Linked DNA regions of Homo sapiens: region 2 is linked to region 1. Evidence: promoter capture Hi-C in human tissues and cell types (Jung and others, 2019). All regions are on one chromosome and are shown on one strand. Each heading gives the region's core, a stretch centred on a gene start or on the middle of the fragment in contact. The rest is flanking DNA. Distances are from core to core; before and after follow the strand shown. Region 1 holds the start of CRMP1 (collapsin response mediator protein 1). Region 2 holds the start of LOC107986254 (a long non-coding RNA gene).

Region 1 (7,555 bases), core at 1,314-3,813:
GCCGGCAGAAAGTAAAACCCTCCCTCCGTGGAGATCGCGAGCCCCTGAGTTCCACAGTCGCGAAGCTCGAGTGCTTTCGGAGCCCCGGGAGCGCCAGAGGCGCTGCCTTTTGTCCGGTGCCTGAGAAGCCATGGAGAAAGGCAGAGGGGACCACAGGGAGAAGAGGAAGGAGTAGGGGAGAGGAACGGGAGAGGTGAAGCGACCAGCGTCCCCAAGGGTCAGGGCGCAGCTGCGGGGCTGGCCCAGGCTGCGCCCTGGGGGAGATGCTGGCGTTGGTGACATTGACCGCAGTTCCAGAGGAACTCTCCTTGGGACAGCTACGGGCCGTGCACAAAGCGCCCTCGCCTCCCTAGTACTCCACCACGCTTTGAGGAAGGCCGGAAGAAGACGGCCACCCCCATCTGACAGATGGAGAAGCTGAGGCCCAAGAGAGCAAAGCGCCTTGGCTGGAAACCCGGATTCCCTGGTGCTGGTCCCGCTTCTCGGCCCGCGGCCCAGAAGCCTCCCCATCGGGCTCGGGAGTTTGGATCCCAAGAGAGGTCGGACCACCAGGGAAGGTAGTGGACAGGGGGAGATACAGAAGGGGTGGGGGAAGAGGAAGCTGGACTCTCGCACCATCTCCCTTTCTGATCACCCCACCACCACACACACATACACACACACACACACACACACACACACACACACACACCCTTGCTGTTGGACCTCTCCCTCGCGAGGCTCCGGCTTCAGGACCACGGAGAGCTCTGGAGCAACAGCCCGCCCGCGAAGGGATGGGGCCCGAAGAGGCCCACCACCGTGTTTACCAGTTCCCTGCTCCTATTCCTCCAGGAAGCCCTCCCAGATATCTGCCCCGATCAAGCTCTGCTTCCCTCCAGGCTCACTTTGGGTCACTCATAGCATTTAAGAGGGGAAGGTTTAATTAAAATGATAATGATTGTAATAAAAGTCAACAACAAACATTTATTGAATGCTCACTACCGACCGGCATTAACTGATTTAATTCTCACAATGAATCCGTCGCTCACCCTAGCCTGGGAACTTCTGGAGGGTGGGGCCAGGTTGCTGAGCCAGGGACCTAGCGCCTACCCTGGGCCTGGCACCTAGCAGTTCTCCGGCATCCAGGTCTGGACCAATTCGAAAGCTCCCCAGCCCTCGGATGCTCCAACTTCCGTTTTTCTGGCACCTGACCCTGGCTCTCGTCGGTCCATCCAAAGGCTACGCCGTCCATCCGCCCTTCTTCCCCCAGTTTCCTGGTGACCCCCAGCTCAAGAGAGAATACCCGCAGGGCCCAAGCCCTAGCGTTCCCTCTCCCTGATCCTCCCGGCCCCATGCTCAGGTCCGGGAGGCCAGAGACCCCAGTTCAAATCCCAGCTCTACCTCCACCTTGCTCTGTGAAGCAGGCACATCGGTGTGTGCTGTGGAGCTCAGGAGTGCCCCTTGAATCTACTGGCGCTTGAGGGTAGGGGTTTACGGCTCCAACTGCCCGACGAACTAAATCCTTAACCAAATCCTTCCCCCCAGCAAGCATGAGGGGAGCGCTCGGAAAAAAAGCTCCTTCCAGCTTTAAGCTGTGTGGCCGCAGGCGACTCGCGGAACCTCTCCCGGGGCCCGGCACACAGTAGGTGCTCTATAATTACTACCGACTGAGTGGATGGATGAATGGACCAACACGGAACGGAGCTCCAGTTCTTTTCACAAAACAGAATGAGGGGCCTGGGTTAGATTCATCCCAGAGGTTCCTTCGCGTTTAAGCGTCCATGCGGTAGCTTTAGCCAACTTCCCCTCTCAGAACCTCTCTCCCTTTCTGTAGAAGAGGAGCCGGGACTGGACCCGGGCGATCCCTTCCGAGTCTCACGGACCACGCCGGCCAGCCCCGACCGAGTCGCCCCAGCTCTGGGAACCTCTTGCATGATGAGGTGGGGGAGGGGCCGCGCCGTGGCTCTCCCCAGCCTGGCGGCCGCTGCCCCAACACCGGGGCCCGGGCATGGCCCTCGGGCGCCCCATGCCCTGGGTCCTCCCGGGGCCCGCCCCCCTCGTCTGGCCCGCGCGCGCCCCGAGGGTACCTGGCCATTGTCCCGGCCGAGGGGCAGGTCGCGGGGCGCGGGGCGGCGGATGCGCAGCGTCGGCGGCCGCTCGTCGCGCTCTCCGGGAGAGCTGACCGCGGAGCCCGAGGGCTCGCTCACGTCGCTGGCCGTGTCCTCGCTGCCTCCCGGCCCTGGCAGCCCGACCGCGTCGGGCCGGCCAGCGCTGCGCGGCGTGCGCGCCGAGCCGCGGCGGCCCACACTGTAGGCGTCGAAGTCGATGGTCTTGTTCTCGTAGGCGCCCTCCACCGCGGCGAACATGCCGCCGTACTTCTGGCGCGGGGTCTGCGCCGCGCTGCCCGGCCGCGCCAGGTACACGGGCAGGTCGTCCTCGGTGTTCCACGCGCGCCGCCGGTCCGCCATACCCGTCCAAGGCCGGCCACCCACCGCGCTCCCGCCTGCCCGCCCGCGGCCCTGGGCACCGCCGTGCGCCGCGCTCCGCGCCTCGGTGCGGGCCTGCGGCGGCCCGGGCGCGACTGCGGCCCAGGGAGGGGAGGGGCGGGGCGTGGCGCGCGCCGGGGCGGGGCCGGGGCGGGGCCTCTGGGCGGCTGCGGGCTAGCGGCGCGGCCAGCTACAAAGGACCAGGAGGCGGGGATCGCGGCTGGGGCGGGGAGGGACGGTGACGCTCCCGAGCCGCAGCGCGGAGGGCGGGCCGCGGCACCGCAGTGCCCTCGCCGCACCCCCCACTCTCCGCCCCCAGGCGGAGCGCAGGGCGCGAGGAGAGCGCGGGGCAGGAGCCGTGTGCGTACACTCGCGCGCCCACACGCTCTGGAGGCACACGCGGGTTCATACCTGCACACCAGACAATTACGCCAAACACATGAGAGATGCACAGACATGCTGGCACACACACGAGAGTCAATCACACATGCTCTCCAGAGATACACAGGGGCTCGATCATGCACACCATACTCAATGTTGCACACACATACACATATATGCTTGTGCACATTCCGAGTTCATTACAAACACACAACAGAAATCCTCATTGTCTCACAACCCCACTCACACACAGTATCACACCAAGATTAATTGCACAACTGGAGAGGCACATGCGTTGGACACACCGTTCATTCCGTCAGTTTTATTTTGCTGAGCGCCCACTAGTGCCTAGCACTGTTGTAGGAGCTGGGAACAGAGCCATGGACAAAAGAGACCAAGTGCCTGCCCTCCAGGAGCTGACCTGCTAAGGAGGGGAATTGGATACAAAAGCACCCATATGGTGGGCCAAGAGGTGGTAAGGGCCAGGAAAGGTGGTGCAGCAGCCAAGAGGGACATGCTAGAGGCACACTCCGACAGACACATAAGAGAAGCACATTCTTGCATGAGAATCAGCGACACACACATACACGTGCACGCCAATGACACCACACAACACACCAATATCAAAGGCAAGCTCAGGGCGATTCCACACATGTGCATCATAAACTGGCAACAGGATGCCCACACACAAGTCCACACCAGTAATAAAGGAAGTCAAAAGCTTAAATAAAAACGCTCCAGAGAAAGACACACAGAGACAGAGATGACCACACACACACAGCTGGCAGTCAACCAGACAGACAGATATTCCCTCATTCGAGGGGCACAGTCCACTTTTGTTGCTCCTGGAGCTTGCAGTCTGGGCGTTCTGGGGTTTCTCTGTCGTGGAGGTCGCTCTGCTGGGGCTCTCCTCTAAGGCCAGGCACCACCTGCCTCCTATAGACACCTTCCCTTATTTCTCCACGATTATCAGGCAGAGGATCCTGCAAGTCCCTGGGGACCCTACAGTCCCAGCTGCACTTCCTGGAGAGGCAGAATCGCCAGCTGCCGACCCCCTCCTCGAGCCAGTCTAGACAAGCAAAGTCAGGACTGGGTGGGGACTGCAGAGGGGAGCATCAGTGCTTCTTGCAATGTCCCCCCACCCATAGCCTTCCATGCTGGGAGCTGTCCCTTCAACCCCGGGCCCTGCCAGCTGCAAGCCAGAGCTCCCGCAGCGTGACCAAGCTCCAGGAATACCAGACAGACAGATGGATTCATGTTCTTGTTTTATGACTCTTGGGCCCCATGGACTGAGGATCCTGGGGCCGTCGGATCCGTGGCCTCAGCTGACACCTCCCTGAAGCTACTGTCTTTCAACCCTGCAACAAGGGGTCTGTGCAGCAGGTAGGTATTTTTACCGGCCCCCTCTTGGAAGAGGAAACAGGAGGGGAGATGTGAAATGGCTCCCTCAGGGCCTCAATCTCAAGGAGGTTCAGCCAGGCCTAGAGCGTGGGCTCATCCACTCGGTGGGCATTTAGCAAGTTATTTTTCTGTGCTTGAGAGAGAGGCTAGTGTGGGGACACAGATGAGTATTTCTAAGTCTCTGTCTTCAACAAGTGTTTACTCTCATGGGGGAGAGAGTGCTGAATGCGAGAACAGAAAGTTCCACACACAGCCTCCATCTACCTTCCACCCACCGCAGCTGCATCCTGGCTCCTCTCTCCTTGTGTCCCTGGGTCCACTGTGCAGATTTGCCACAGACACTCCTCTTGAGGCCCATCAGCCTCCAGGCTATCTTGCAAGTGTTTTCGATTTTTCAATGAAAATTTTTCTCTGTCCTGTGAAATACTATTCCCAGCCCATTCCAGGCAAGAACAATTCATGTCGAAAACCACATAGAAATTTCTTCTAAAACCCCACAAATGTTCAGGGTGACATAACCCAGAGAAATATCAGAAAACTCAAAAGTCTGAGTTAGGTGGAACTTTGGAGGCCAGGCCTCCTACTGCATGCTTGAATCTGCTCTCAACATCTTGAGGACACAGTCTCTCAGGCTTTGTTGGTGGTGATGGAAATCTTACTGCTTCTAAAGAAAACCCTTTCCATTGTGAGAAAGGGCTGGGCAGTTGCCAAGACTAGAGGGAGTGACGCAAGGAAGGAGCTGAGAAAGTGCTGTCTTTATGCAGAAGCAGGAAAGGATCTTCATAGCTTCTGCTTATAGAAAGTTTACTACGTGCCCGGACCATGGTAAGCACCTAACAGATAGTAACTCTTTTATGCCTCGCAGCAACCTTGAAACTGCCATTTTAGCCTCATTTTACAGATGAGAAAACTGAGGTTCAGAGACATAAATAACCTGTCCAGGGTCACAGCTGGCAAGTAAGACTTCGAGGTTTAAACAGAGTAGTCTGGTGCCAGAGTCCACATCGAAACAACTACCCTTTCCTCTCCCCAAGAGCCTGACTGAGGTGGTCCCACTGGGAGATAAGAGATAAAGGGACCTAGTTTAGGCAGAAGAGTCTAGGTGGTTGAGTTAGAATCCTGTTTTGCATGCAGTCTTGGGCAACTAATCATTCGACATTCATCTAACACACCTTTGTGGCGCCCACTGCGTGTCACTGACTTTATATCACTTCCTCTCACTCTTTTCTCCCCATGCAGAGGAGGCGATCGGACCCTCCTGAAACTGCATACTGTGTATAAGGGTCCTTGCACACACAGTTCATTTCCGTGCATCATGCTCTGCCTTATACACTGCTGGCTCCCTCAGGCAGCCCCACGTGGCGAACCAGGCCACTTCCATCTTCAGGCTGGAGCGCTGAGGATGACAAACCTTAAGCCCATTGCTCAGGTTAACCACCGGGAAGTGACTAACCTGGGATTTCAACTCAGGTTTGTCTGAGTTTTTTCCACACCATCTCATCTCAAGGTCAGTAACCCAAGCGCAACAGAGAAAGGGAGGAAGGAAACAAAACCCAGGGTATAAAGTTGGAAATGCACCCTCCAGCTTGCACGGAGACAGAAAGGAGCAATATTTGCCAGGGACCAACAGAGGCAGCAGGGGAAGCCTGAGATAACTGCCCCCATCCTGACGACAGCTGTGACCTCCCCCATCCCCCAACCCATCCTCCAACTGCTCCTAGTCCTCCTGGGAAGGAGTTCTTATAAGTGAATTACAGCACTACATTTGGTGAAGGACAAACCTTGAGCTCATCATGTCAGACATGAAACCTTCTTCCTGGGTGATGGCAGAGAACAGAAAGGGACACGTCAGATGGGAGAGGACAAGAGGCCAGTTCAGGTCCGATGTGGATTTTGTTTCGGCAAACCAAAAAAAAAAAAAAAATTCGTTCATTCATTGCAAAAAGAATGTTTTCAAAAAATGAAGGAAAGGGGATTGTAGTTTATCATCAGGTATATAGTAATGGATTATTGTCCTCATCTCAGATATAAGAAAAGATGTTCAGAGAAGTTAAACAAGTAAACATGTTCGGTTACATGGCCAGCAAGTGACAGAGATGCAGTTCAAATCCAGGCTCATTTGATTTTTAAATGTCTGCTTTTTTCTGTGGCCTCCAAATTAGTACATATGGGACTGTGGTGGGCAGAATAATGATGCTCAAAGATGCCCACACCTGAATCCCTAGAACTACTGCCCATGTTACTCCACATGGCAAATGGGACTCTGTGGCTCTGCTTACAGATCTTAAGATGTGGAGATGATCCTGGATCACCTGGTGGAGCCAGTGTCATCACAAGAGTCCTTTTAAGTGAGAGAGAGGCAGGAAAGTCGGAGTCTGAGAACGGGAGATCAGAGAACAGAAGCAGAGGTCAGAGTGAGAGAGATTTGAAGAGGAAGGAAGGGGCCACAAGCCAAAGAATGTGGGCAACTCCAGGAGCCAGAAAAGGCAAGGAAACACTTTCTCCCTGGAGCCTCCAGAAGGAAGGCAGCCCTGCCAACATCTCGGTTGTAGCCCAGGGACTCTGACTTTCAGAACTACAAGATAATGAATGTGAGTTGTTCTAAGGCAATGGGTTCATGGTCATCTGTCAAAGCAGCAATCAGAAATCACTACATGATTATAAAGGAAATCATTTAATTATTTGTGCAAAGTGGATTTGAGTACCAAGAAAAGCATTTATTCCCCACCAAAAATCAAGGGAATCCTAGCTCCATTGCCTTTTTCTGTTACGTCAGGGTCGACAACACTTTGTAACAAACCATCAATAAATAAAACATTCAGAAGGGAAAAAAACCCTTTAATTGTGAAAAAGCATACATTTTAATGTACAAAATTACACAAATTATACATTTAACTCACATAGAAAAATACATCTCAGTAACAAGAGAAAATGCCGGCCTATTTTACACAAATGGAGCGATCATTACAAATCCTGAAAACCCAGAGGGAGGGTTGAGCCCGACCCACAACTGGTCAGGAATCCAGTGAACATCTCCACGGACTGATGGTTTCACTGCAGGCAGGCCCCGGAGGATAGCTGCCCCAGGACCCGAGGCAGGTCCTGCTGAAGAGCTTCCGGAGGGGAGGTGTCGGGTCCTGTCGCTGGACCACTCCCGTGTGAACCAAGGCAGCTCACTCCGGGGAGGGGCAGGACTTGGCCTGCCAACATTCTCAGCCTTGAGTTTATGAATGAGGGCGCATAGGAGACCTTGTAGATTCATGCAACCGCAAGGTGTACAGTTATTGTGCATTTGGGATTCAGCGGGA
Region 2 (7,555 bases), core at 3,129-5,628, 1.4 Mb before region 1:
TGATAGCAGCACTTATTAGAACATGCTTTAGTTATGTGCCTCTAAGTCTATTTTTTTCCCTAGATTATGTGTTTCTCAAAGTCAGACATTGTCTCACTCACGTTTGTACACCTAATACCTAACCTAGTTGTATGCCTGGCATATAGTTGGTGCTTAACAGTAAGTGACTATGAGTAAGTGAATAAATAATTCATTCTCAGAGATACCTTCAGTTCAAAGTGGTATTTATAATGCCTAAAGCAGAGTGAATGGGCACAATTTTGAATGCAATGTACATCTCTTGTTGGCCACCCCCATGCATTGCTCCCCTCCTTCTGGGAACAGCTCCCCAAATTTCCTTTGGAAACAATTCGTCCCTGATTCTCAGCCAAATGTATTGGGTGGAAGTAACATACTGCATCAGATGCAGAGCTGGGTCCTAAATGGACCAAGCTAGGCAGTATATCCTTTTAGTGGCAACAGGAGTGGATTGAGGATAAGAATATCACTCAATTTGAGCCAGTAAGAGAAAGTGAAACCCAGTCAAGCAAAGAGCCTCTCTCTTCCTCCAGAGGGGGCATTATGAGAAAGTGAGGCCTGCAAGTGCTGCAGCTCAGTGGCTGCCACAAAGCAAGGGCGTTAGAGGCGCCTTAAAGGCGCCAACACTGTGTGTGCAAGGCAGAACAGAGGGAGTAAGAAAAACCAGGCCTGTGGTGACACTGTTTGGTTCACCGAGTCCAGCCATGCCAGAGGTTAAGTCATACCACTAGACTTTTCAGTGATATAAATCAATAAATTCCTTTGATCACTTAAGCTAATTTGTGTTGGATTCTCTGTAACTTATAACCTTAGTAAGACTTCTGATAAAGCAAGTTAGTGTTTATGGGAAGAAAATCAAGCCACACATTTGAAGAAATGTACAGAAAAAGGAGACAAACAGGGAGAGGGTGAGAGTGGACCGCAAATTAAATTTGATAGGATACGAAGAAAAGAAAAGAAAAGAAAAGAAGCTAACAAGGTACAACACAAAATAGAAGAATGAGATTCCAGATGTGGAAGGAAAGCTTTCCATTCCAGACAGCATCAGTCAGGCCCACATAGGGGTATCCTGTGGTACATTTATGAAAAGAATAAAGTTTTATAAAGAGCTAGAAAAAGAAATTTTAAAAGTAACCAATGTTTCTTTTTGAAAAGGCCTTTATGAGAAAAAAGAAAAGACTTTGGGATAATTTAATCTGGAGAAAGCAAATCCTAGAGGCAATTTAACTTGTTGAAGGGTTATTTATAAGGAGGTGACTAAACAGCTGTTCTCCAATTTCACAGGGAAAAGAATGAGAGGAAATTGATTTAAATTTCAGTATGAAGCTCAAGGCAGGCAAAGGAGAAGTGCTTGAGGGAGAACTGTTAATGATGAAAAAAACTAAATGGAAAACTGGATTTTTATGGCTTTTAAAAGATGGAAAATTACCTGTGTTGATTCATTTAGTTTGGGGGTAAAACTACTAAACAAATATTTGAGGTGTGCCTTCTGTTCATTTATTCAAATGCCATGTATGAATCCCTACTATGGGCCAGATGCTCTGCAAGGCACTAGGAATACAAAGACCAAGAAGATATGGTGTCTGTTCTGTCTAAAGGCTGTATTACTGGGTACAAGAGCCACTGTGCTAAATACAAAGAAGCATGAAAATAGAGTCCTGCTCTCTCCTTTTCCATCCCCTGTGCCCAATATAAGCCCACAAATAAACAATATCATTTGAGAGATAACACAATCGCAGCTGAAAGGTTAAGTGACAATGTTATTACTAGATAAAAACACAAAATAATAAGGCAAGGGATGTCACAAGCCATACATATTTCCATAGTAAGAATACAGGCAGCAAATGCTTTCAATTCAAGAGGAGACTAGTATAGGCTAGAATGTGCCTTTCAAGATCAATGGAATTTGAGAAAGTGAAGGAGAGCAAGCAGTCCAGGCAAGAGAAATAGCAGGAGCCAAGGAAGGAGGCAAGAAGCTGAGGGGACTGCTAACAGAGCAGCATGGTGAAAACTGGTGGGATGATGGGGGAAGTGTGGGGTTTAACACTGGAGGTGGGTAGGCTAGCTTTATAAAGACCAAATATCTGAGAATCTTTGCGTGGAGAATGAGCGGTACTGAGCGCTTCTGAGCCAAAGTAATGATGAAAGCAACATCTTCCGTGCAGTGGCTTAGCTTGGAGAGGGACTGAGGGCTCACCGTTACTGTGTCAGCTCAGGCACAAGATGGTAGGAGTCTGAACTCCTATGGTAGCAGCAGAATGGATGAGACGGAGAGAAAGTGCAGGTGCTTATTCACTTAATTGATTTCCAAATACTATGTACTGAACTGTGCTCTGTGCTGTGAGGGGAGTGGAACACAGTGTCTATCTTCTTGGGCTTGGTAATTAACTGGATAGAGGACAGGAAAAGGGAGAATGACAGATGTAACTGCAAAAATGGCAGTCAGGGTGGAGGAGCTCTCTGGTGAGTTCGAATTCCTAAATTTTTATTTACACAAGCTGGAACAACAACAAAACGTCAAAATGTAAACAGGAAAACCAATCCTCCCAATATACGACTTCATGTGCACCATGGAAGATGCTGATTTTATCGCAGTTGAGTCAACGGGAAAGTATAGAAGCAAATATGCTTGTACTGGTTGAACTGTACCAAGTAATGAATATTTGAAAAGACTTCTGAAGCCAGGCATGGTGGTGTACATGCATAATCCCAGCTACTCAGAAGGCTGAGGCAGGAGGACGCTTGAGCCCAAGAGTTTGAGGTCAGCCTGGGCAACATAGTGAGACTCTATCTCCAAAAAAAAAATTGAAAAAATAAAAAAAGGCTTCAAAGATAACAAGTAAGGTATTTTTTTAGGACTGAAATGTTTCCAGATTTCATCTTTTGACATAAGTGAGATATATTCACAGATTTTCAATCATTTACCCACAGATAGGTATTTAGAAGCTTTCAGGAAATTCATCACCTCTCCTTGATAGCTCTTCTTTTTCTTCCTTCTCTTAATTTAATTTTGATTTAACTTCCTCTTGTCATTGCTTGCTTACAAATCACTGCCTCTGTGTCTGGAGCCAATTGGGGCTGTAAAGTACCCCACGACGCCTTCATCTGGGGACCTATTTATATATATTTTCTTATTTCAAGAGGTAGAGCTAGCCTGTAACTCCAAAAGTTTCCAATCAACCATCACATTCTATTCTTTGGAAAAATATGCTTCTCTCCACAGTTAAGATGACATCAAACTACATATTTTGCAAGAATATTTCCTTTCTACCTGTATAAAGATGAATTGTGCTTTGGGAATTCACTCACAAAAAAAGGGTTGAGTGTGGGTAATAAATGCTTAATAGCAATAACATTTTTTAAAACTTTCTACCAGTTAAAATTAAATGTAATTTCCTTATTACTTTAATGGAAACTTTTGGAGTTGAAGTATTTAACTAGTCTCTTTTACATCAAGTGTTCATTATATAATTCCCTTTTAATATTAGGTATGTAAACTGTCCATTGACAGAATAAAAACACACATTTCCACTGAAACAAAAACTGGAGAAGGACAAGGCAGCTTGATTCAGGATCTGATAATGGGTTACAGATTCCATTTCAGTTCAGATTTGCAGTCAACATGCCACAGAGTCATTTACCAGGTCATATTTGGAGGGAAAGTATGAACTGCCACGTCACTGAGAGAAAAATCTGTGTGAGCCTAAAATACTTGACTTTTCCCACTGTAATGCTGAGCCTAAGGAAGAAAGATAGAGAAAAAAATTATATATATATAATTTTATATATATATATGTTTTTATATATATATAATTTTATATATATATGTCTTTATATATATATACACACACACACACACATATATATATATATTAAAAACTACCTTAAATTAAAAGGCAGTGATGATTTGGCCCAAGTTCTGGGCATGGGGAAGACATCCCTTAGCCACTGTCTTTCAGGGTCACCCTGAGTGAGGCTGCAATGCTGCCTTGTCCATTGCTGGCTGGTACTAGCCTACTGGCTAAATCATCCTAACCCCCAGGATGCTAGACTTACACAGCGGAAAAATTCTAGAGCTGGTGGGCAGACACCTAACCTGAGTCATGGGCTGTGGATGCAAAGCTTCTACCCAGTTCCCAAGCCAACTCCTCTTTTCCAGCCTTCCCATCTCCTGCTGGAGCCTCCCATTAGTTGACCCCTATCAGAAGCCAGGGGGCAAGGAAACCCCACTATGCAGCCCATAAAGATCAGCCTCTTGATGTGATCCCCAATATTGGAGGGGGGGCCTGCTGGGAGGTGTTGGATCATGAGGGTTGATCCCTCATGAATGGCTTAGCGCTGTCCCCTTGGTGATAAGTGAATTCTTGCTCAGTTCACACAAGATCTGCTTGTTTAAAAGAGTCTGGGACCTCCCCCTTCTCTCTTCTTGTTCTCTCTCACCATGTGACACTCTTGCTCCCCCTTCACCTCCTGCCATGATTGTGAGCTTCCTGAGGCTTCACAAAAGCAGATGCCGATGCCATGCTTCTCGTACAGTCTGCAGAATCATAAGCCAAAATTAACCTCTTTTCGTTATAAATTACCCAGCTCCAGGTATTCCTTTATGGCAATGCAAAAAATGAACTAATACAGGTTGTGTGGCTAAACTGCATCTTTCGGATTGAGGCCCCCAGGTACTAGGAGAACTGCCTGCTGCTGGCTCACAGCCGAGTGTGTCTCAAGCAGCAGGAAGGTGCCTCACCCAACACTAGGGCCCTTCCCTGGGAGAAGCCCACAGACAATGGCTGGCCAATGCAGTGGTTAAAAAGCCCTGGCCCTTTGCCTCAATTGGGCAATTCTAAAAAGCCATCTCAGCTCCAGAGATCTCCACGGAACTGACCATTTAATGAACAAATAAAATCAAAAACTGGTATCCCAACAACAGAAAAGGGAATTACAATTTTTTTTCAAATGTCTATAATCCATAAATTGGGTCTCCTTCCCTCTCAATGATTTTACTAACTAAAACCACAAATCCTTTTCTCTTTTCCCCAAAAGCAAACCACAACACTTATCTTTAAGAAACGCATGGTTGGCCAGGTATGGTGGCTCACACCTGTAATCCCAGCACTTTCGGAGGCTGAGACGGGCGGATCACGAGGTCAGGAGATCGAGACTATCCTGGCTAACACGGTGAAACCCTGTCTCTACTAAAAATACACAAATTAGCCGGGAATGGTGGCTGGTGCCTGTAGTCCCAGCTGCTCAGGAGGCTGAGGCACGAGAATGGAGTGAACCAGGGAGGCGGAGCTTGCAGTGAATCAAGATCGCGCCACTGCACTCCAGCCTGGGCGAGACTCCGTCTCAAAAAAAAGAAAGAAAAGAAATGCACGGTCACAAGGTAATTGTTGATTAAAAGAAAAAGGTTGGTTTGGAAGCAGCCATATTTCCCCAAAAGTTAGTCAAGCACTTTCAAATATATAATGTATGCACCAAAATATGCTCCTAAAGACAGCAGATGATGTGATAACATACTAAAGAGCAAATCCCCAGAGGCGTGGTCTGTGGAATGCCAAGTGGAGCACAGTTCCCAGCCTGGGACACACTTGCCACAGGACACCTGTGCATGCCCAAGAGCTGGGGAGGCAGCAGGCAACCGGAGAAGCACAGCACACACGTGCCAGGACTACTCATCTCACAGCACCAGGGACGTCATCTTGGGAGATAGCTTACCCTTCTGAACCTCGGTTTCTTCATGAATAAAGGAGCCTAACTTGAAAGGATAGTCAAATAAATTATAAAGCTTTTACCACAGGGCCAGGTACAGTAGGTGCTCAACAAGTGGTAGCCATTATTATCATTTATTATGCTTTAGAATAACAACCAGAAACTAAGACATCAATGCAACATTTGTGGATGATTTTCTCATATAGATTAAGAAAGTCTGGATTGGAAATCCAGCTGAGTTACAGGAAAATTACTCCCTTTACAAAAGATTTTACCACAGACTTCCTTTAAATAGCCCCCACCCCTCCACTGCACATTTAATATAGAATTAGATATTGCTTGCTCATAACATTTTTCTAATCAAAAGCTATTAATTCTCCATTTCCTACCACAGCAAATAAAAACTCATCTGCCAGGAGTTTTACTTGTTCTGTTTTGCTTTTCATTTCAAAAGTAAATGTGCTCATTAAAGAAATTCTGGATGATAGAAGCAGAAAAATAAATCACCCAAGTCCCATCACTCAGAAAAAGCCATGGTTAACATTTTGGTGAGTTCCCTTCCAGTCATTTCCATGCCTAGAGTTTTTTGGGTTTGCATACATAGTTTTAATTGTAATTGGTTTGGGTAGTTATTTTTTTAAGCTAACATAATAATATAAGCATATATTAATTATATATAATAATATATAATTCTCATGTCATGACATACTCTTCAGTATGTCACATTTACCTAACAATTTCTCTATACTTGGGAATAATGCTGTAGTGTCTCTATGTAAGGTACTTGTGACAGCTGCCATCACCATCATCATCAAAATCATTATTATTGTATTATTAAGGCTGCTGCTGTTCTGTGAACATTTCTAAGGCTTTGTGAAAAAAAGAAAAGAAAAGAAACACTGCTGCTGCAAACTTTGTTTTGTTTTGTTTTTCCTAGCTGGAGTGCAATAGCACAATCTTGGATCACTGCAACCTCTGCTTCCCGGGTTCAAGCAATCCTCCCACCTCAGCCTCCCGGGTAGCTGAGATTACAGGTGTGTGCCAAAGCGGCAGGCTAATTTTTGTATTTTTTTATAGCGATGAGATTTTGCCATGTTGCCCAGGCTGGTCTTGAATTCCTAAGCTCAAGCGATCCACCCACCTCAGCCTCCCAAAGTACTGGGATTACAGGCATGAGCCACCATACCCGGTCAAACTTTTAAAACTCAGAAAGACTTCCCACTTCTACAAAGTATGTCAACATTCATCTTCATTTTCTTCAGTTTTGTTTTTACAGTTAAATCTTTAGTCCATCTAGAAATTTATTTTAATGTATGTATGAAACAAGGAACTAAAAATTTATTTTTTTCCCAAAGTGCTAACCAATTACCGCCAATCACTGAATAAATCTTCCTTTTCTTACTGATTTACAACACATCCTTTGGCATGGATAAAATTTACACACACACACACACACACACACCCTGGACTAATGGGTTTCACTAAAAAATTCATATATGCATATATTATTTTTTGGTGTAAAATGTTTTGGTATATATGCTGCCAAAGTGAGCATTAAAGTAATAATTGCTGTGTTGACAACACTTTTTCTTCACTTCCAGGTACACAATACGTGTTTCTATTTATCCAAATCTTCTGTATCTGTCTACAAAATTTTGCAGTTTGCTTCAACTAGGTCATTTACATTTCTTTTTAAGGTTATTACTAGAAACTCTTTTTGTTGCTACTATAAATGTTTCGTTATATTCTAAATGGTTATTAATTAAATATAGGATCGCCATTGATGTTTGCCCACTAATGTTATACAATGGCTCTCGAGGCCTCTGTAATC

What was found. Contacts are between HindIII fragments. The study calls those that stand out against the background at their distance.
Region 2: a fragment that was not itself captured here is called in contact with the fragment with the promoter of CRMP1 in region 1 in 1 of the 25 tissues and cell types used here (dorsolateral prefrontal cortex).

What each region holds. Positions count from the first base shown.
Region 1 is chr4:5,890,523-5,898,077 of GRCh38, forward strand. CRMP1 (collapsin response mediator protein 1) reads right to left here and starts at 2,564. Exons shown (of 14, transcript NM_001014809.3): 1 at 2,067-2,564. The coding sequence starts at 2,447. It also overlaps a transcript of C4orf50 not described here. RefSeq lists enhancers at 1-425, 426-1,169. The HindIII fragment of the contact is 12,427 bases long and covers 1-5,773 here.
Region 2 is chr4:4,523,991-4,531,545 of GRCh38, forward strand. All of the region lies in intron 1 of STX18 (syntaxin 18), which reads right to left. LOC107986254 (a long non-coding RNA gene) reads right to left here and starts at 5,153. Exons shown (of 2, transcript XR_001741564.2): 1 at 4,459-5,153; 2 at 2,478-3,757. The HindIII fragment of the contact is 4,750 bases long and covers 2,004-6,753 here.